2 separate regions of the Homo sapiens genome follow, and region 1 is linked to region 2. The links are contacts of gene promoters, found by promoter capture Hi-C in blood cells and fetal thymus (Javierre and others, 2016). All regions are on one chromosome and are shown on one strand. The core of a region is centred on a gene start or on the middle of the fragment in contact, and the rest is flanking DNA. Distances in the headings are between cores, read along the strand shown. Region 1 overlaps PRDM16 (PR/SET domain 16). Region 2 holds the start of MORN1 (MORN repeat containing 1).

Region 1 (2,700 bases), core at 51-2,550, 1.0 Mb after region 2:
AGTGCTCAGGGGCTCGGGGGCCCTGGCCACCCCCCCTGACCTGCCCATACTCTGTTGTTCCCCTGCCAATGGCTTCTCTGGGAGTGCAGCAGGCACGGTCACAGCAAGGTCCTCTCAAGGCCCTCCGCATTGCACCAGGGCCAGGCTACCCTGCACGTTCTCCTTCCTTTTGGAGCTCACGGGCGTGTTATTTTACGCAGTGAGACCATCAATTTCACTGGCCGCTTGTCAGCTTATTTACAACGCAGACCCCAGCTGCTCGGAGAACTCTGCTCCCTCGCAGCCCTGGGCTCACGGCTCCCCTAAATTTCAAATGGACTTCTCTGTCTGGGCCATTTATTTAGATTAGAAGCAAGAGAGGGCCACGTTCAGGGCTCTCTGCAACCAAATTGAACGCACAGCCCTGTTCGTGGCTCTCCCCGGCCCCAGAGCTTCACACAAGGGACTTGCTCTCCAGTTTTATGAACAAGCTTCTTTTCCAATCCCATTTCTTACCTCGGATCCACAATTGCTAGGGTTTATGCAAGAGCCATTAGGTGGACTTTCTGCAAAAGTCTCTGCATTTCCAAAGAAACCAGGAACTGAATGAGCCGTGTTTGAGCACACATGCAGACAGACAGGCAGACACACAGGCAGGCGGACAGACAGGAAGATAGGCAGGCAAACAGACAGGAAGACAGACAGGCAGGCAGACAGACAGGCAGGCGGACAGACAGGAAGACAGACAGGCAGGCGGACAGACAGGCAGACAGACAGACAGGCAAACAGGCAGGAAGGCAGACAGACAGGTAGATGGACAGATGGATGGACAGACAGGCAGACAGACAGGCAGGGCAGACAAGCAGGAAGGAAGATAGGCAGGTGGACAGACAGATGGACAGACAGGCAGGCAGACAGGCAGACAGACAGGCAGGGCAGACAGGCAGGAAGGCAGATAGATAGATAGGTAGGCAGACAGACAGATGGACAGACAGGCAGACAGACAGGCAGGGCAGACAGGCAAGAAGGCAGACAGACAGGCAGGTGGACAGACAGATGGACAGACAGGCAGGCAGACAGACAGGCAGACAGACAAGCAGATGGACAGGCAGGAAGGCAGATAGACAGACTGGCAAGCAGGCAGACTGGCAGGCAGACAGACAGTCAGGCAGGCAGACAGATTGGGCTGCCTCAACATGCCAGAGGGGCACATGGCCCCAGCTGGGTGGGAAGCCTCTGGCTGGGCAGAGCCTGAATGCTCAGACTGGCAGGTGCTTTGCATCCGGGCTGGAGACGCAGAGTCCAGTGTGTCCTTTCTCAGCAGTCAGTCAGCCTCAAAAGCATGGCGGTCCCAGGGCCAGGCACCACCATTCCAGTCTAAGGATGTGTCAGGGTGGGGGATGTGAGAAAATGCATTGGAGGGTGTAAAATCCCTCCTTTCTGGGAGATTGTGTGGGACACGTCGGGTAGGGGGGCACCCAAGCATCTCCAACCCTGCTGCCGAAAGGGCTCCATCCTCGGCCTTATTCTTGTGTGAGTTCACAGGCCGAGTCAAACAAAACTGCAGCGCCGCCCAGGGCAGGCTTTGTGGATGGCCAGTCCAAGCCAGGGCGCTGCCTGTCACTGGGCTGTGGGAGGAGACGCTGGGACCCGGGTGCCCGGAGGCAGCTCAGCTGACCCGGGCAGGAGCAGGGGCTCCCAGAGAAGAAGCCCACAGGCCAGGCCCCTGGGATCAGGAGCAGAGAAGGCTGAGGGTCACTTCGGGGAGCTCAGGGACTTCGATCACCAATGCTTCTTTTCCTGTCTACTGTTGAAGAGGCCAGAGTGAGCCTGGCCTCCGGCAAAGGTTGGAAGGTTCAGGAATTGAGTGGATGAAGCCTTAGGGCAGCACCAGGGAAGTTTGCTGGGACGAAGTGGGATGGGGATATGCCTCGGCCAGGCGTGGGAGAGGAGTGCCCTTCTCCCAGGACTGCCTCCCGTTCTCTAGGGGACCCATTTTCAGACTTGCTAGGTTTTACCAGGCAGCCTGGGGAGTTGGGGGAGACTCGCAGGCTCTGAGATTCCAAGGACAGTTTCTCACGGCCGCAGCCCCTGCACGTGGGGAATGCTGAGCTCCTGGGCCCGGCAGCAGCACCCGGAAGGTGTGGGACTGAAGCTTCCTGCCTTGGGGAGGCCCCTGCGGGTGTGTTGATGGCAGGTCAGACTCCCTCGCCAGGCTTTTGTGATAGCAAACACCAGCCCAGGCCCCTCCTGTACAGGGCAGCACCGTGCCGAGAAGGCCGAGCCACACAGCCCCTCCCGGTCTGGGAGGCCAGGACTCCCGAGTGTCACCAGGCACGTCCCCATCCATGTGACAAGGGCATGTGACCAGTATGCTGCTCTGGAGCGGGCCACCGGCACCGGTCGGGGCGGGGTGGGGCCTCTCGGAGTCCTGTCCTCTGTGGGAACGAAGGCCACTGTGCTTAGAACAGCCACACCCACTCCGGGTGAACAAACCCTGCCCCATCCTGGTGCCTCCACAGAGGCTCCCACAGAGGCCCTGGCCTGGTCTCCAGCTGCTACCAGGCCCCCCCGGCCAGGATCCTGCTGCAGTGGGTAGACTTTCTGTGTGCTGTGCCATGGGCATCATGGAGCTTGCTTTGTTTTCAAAATATGAAAACGCATGATCATATAAACAGAATGTTCAAGTGCGTGTGTGCCTGTGGGATCAGATGAGCACCG
Region 2 (2,700 bases), core at 185-2,684:
GCAGACCAGAGGCGACCTGTGGGGCTCATGAGCTCTCCTGTCGACTGTTGGGCCATTCATTTGCTCATTTGTTTATGTGACAAGGATGAGGACCTACTTGGTGCAGAGAAGACAGGCCCAGTAAGAGGAGGGCTGGCTTGAAACAACTGCAGGTCCTTGAGAGACCAGAGGTGCTCGGGAGGTGGTGAGGAGCAGGTTGGGAGCCTTGTTGCAGGAGATGAGTGAGCCAGGGGAAGGCAGAGCGGCAGTGTCAGTGAGGCACACAGGGGAGGAGCAGACTCTCCCATCCCCTGCCGTGGCCCTTCAGTGGCCTCCTATCGCTGGGGAGAAAATCCACACTCATACCCAAGGATGGCCTGGCCGGCTTCATCTCCTCCTAGTTGCTGGGTGTGCCACCCGCCAACTCCTGCAGTTCCAGGAATGGGCAGGGCTCCCTCCCTACCAGCTCCTCAGGCACATTTTGTGGGCAGGGTTTATGGGAAAATGTCGGGGAGGAGGGCAGGGGGTTACTACAGGCTACTGTATCTGTCCCAAATCAGGGTCAGGTTCTACCTGAAGATAGTAGTGTTAGCTCTGAGTTCATTCCAGACCCGTTTATTTGATTCTAGAAACAGTTCCTATCAAAACCTGCTCTTTTTTTTTTTTTTGAGACTGAGTCTTGCTCTGTCGCCCAGGCTGGGGTGCAGCGGCGCGATCTCGGCTCTCTGCAACCTCCGCTTCCTGGGTTCAAGCGATTCTCCTGCCTCAGCCTCCCGAGTAGCTGGAACTACAGGAGGCACCACCCCGGGCCAATTTTTGTATTTTTTAGTAGAGACCGGGTTTCGCCATGTTGGCCACACTGGTCTCGAACTCCTGACCTCAGGTGATCCACCCGCCTCGGCCTCCCAAAGTGCTGGAAGTACAGGCAAAAACTGCTTTTGAAACGCGTCCTAGCGTTTCTGGACAGCACCGGCCAGGAAGTCAGGAGGCTTGGTGCTGCTCCTGCGCCTGCCCTCGCCCCAAGTCCTGGGCTTCGGGATCCCCATGGCAACCCCAGGTCCCGCTGGCTGTGAGGCTGCGGCCGGAACCCGGTCTTCCCGGCTAGGAGCCCGCGGGGGGCGACCCCCTGCAGGGCTTGGCCTGCTGCGGGAGGAGGGCTCGGGGAAGGGTGCGAGCCGAGCCCGAGGCGCACGGCGAGTCCTGTGGGAGTGGGGGACGCGGGGGCGGCCCTGGCTCCGCCGCGGCACCTGGACCTCTACTTTCCGAGGTGAGCATTTGGGGGTCGAGGGCGTAGAGCGATCGCACCCTGAATGGAGCCCAGGGCAGCCAGCGACCTGTCCCGTGGCCCGCAGTCGTTACCGTTCCGGGGCGGCCGCCTAGGCGGGTCCCGACGCGGCCCGCGGGAGCTCGGGGTGCCCTCGCCCGCCGCTGCCATCTTGCCGCCGAGGGTTCTCTTAGCGACCAGCAACGCCCGCTTCCATTGGTCTTTGTCGCAAGGGGGGGTGTGGCCACGGGCCTAGTCCCTGAGCCCGCGCAATCTCTGGAGCGAAGCTAGCCGGGCCCGGAGCCAGAGGACGCAGCTGCGCCTGTGCGCGTTTCCGCCGCTGTCGTCTCTTCCGCCGGGAGGCCCGCCCGCCAACGGCCTGCGCGTCTGCGCCGGAAGCGGAAATGGTTGGAGCCCTTGGCCCCGCCCTCGCGCCATCTTGGGGGCCCTGGAGGCGGCGCCGCGGAGGACGGAGCGGAAGTGCTCGCTGCAGCTTCCCGGAGCCGGAGCGCAGCGCCTGCGGCCGCCCGTGCCCCGCCGTCCTCCTTCCCGCGGCCGTGAGGGAGACCGCGGCTCGGCCGTAGCGGAGCTGCGAGGTGCCAGGAAGGGCTGCGTGGCGCGGGAACGGCCGGGCAGCGCCGCCTCCGCTTCTTCCGGGCTGTCAAGGCCGCGGGCGGGCGGGGCCGCGCTGAGGGCCGGGCGGGGAGGGCCGTCGGGGCCCGGGTGGCCGCGGGGACCGTGTTCCCGACCCGCGGCCCTGAGGGGTACGGGTCGCGCCTCGGGGTCGGGCCCGGGACGGGGTGCTGGGGGGTGCGGCGGAGCCCTGGGGCCTGCGAGGGTCGGGGGAGCGGGAGAGGGGCCGGGCGGGGGCTGCAGCCCTCGAGCCACCCGGGCCGCATCTCGTCCGCATCCCCTGCTTGGCATCTGGGGGAAGCGGGCAGTCGCGGCCCCCACAGCGCTGCGAGTTGGGCTGTATTCCAGAGTAATGTGCCCTGTCCCCATCCTGCGTCCAGGTCAGCGCTTATCTGTAGGATTTAGTGTTAAGCTCTGGGGTGAAGGCGTTACTGACGGGCTGAAGGGAAACTAGTTACATCGGTTTTGATCGTATTCTAAATAGGCAATAAAATCATAAATTCTCCAGGCTGACTTAGTACTGGTCTGTGGCCCCACTGATAAAGGTATCGTTCGTTTCTCTGCCAGGTGTCTCACAGCACAGAGGGCTGCTTTCAGCCTAAGTACCTTCAGTGGGCTTTTGCCCTTTTCCCTTTATGAAGAGTAGAGACTGGCCGCTAGTCCTGGAAGCACTTTATTTTTAGTTGAGTTGACATTTCCCAGGAAGATGCAGTTATCCCCGTAAGTGGATAAAGGGTTCTCAGTAATTCAGACTCTCACATGGCTTCTGCCGTATGCCTGAGGTGACGGCGACGGCGGTAACAGTGTGTCAGAGCCAGGTGGAG

Evidence for each region. Contacts are between HindIII fragments. The CHiCAGO score rates a contact against its expected background, and 5 or more counts as called.
Region 1: a fragment that was not itself captured here is called in contact with the fragment with the promoter of MORN1 in region 2 in 2 of 17 cell types (endothelial precursors and naive B cells); the score reaches 12.4 in endothelial precursors.

The regions. Positions count from the first base shown.
Region 1 is chr1:3,421,244-3,423,943 of GRCh38, forward strand. The region is part of intron 12 of PRDM16 (PR/SET domain 16); the gene reads left to right. Among named protein-coding and RNA genes, the nearest start is that of ARHGEF16, 32 kb to the right of the region's middle. The HindIII fragment of the contact is 1,664 bases long and covers 469-2,132 here.
Region 2 is chr1:2,390,120-2,392,819 of GRCh38, forward strand. MORN1 (MORN repeat containing 1) reads right to left here and starts at 1,435. Exons shown (of 14, transcript NM_024848.3): 1 at 1,339-1,435. The coding sequence starts at 1,414. It overlaps RER1 (retention in endoplasmic reticulum sorting receptor 1), which reads left to right and starts at 1,722. Exons shown (of 7, transcript NM_007033.5): 1 at 1,722-1,839. RefSeq lists silencers at 1,008-1,137, 1,298-1,367, 1,498-1,607, 1,708-2,007 and enhancers at 1,431-1,725, 1,594-2,466. The HindIII fragment of the contact is 4,806 bases long and covers 1-2,700 here.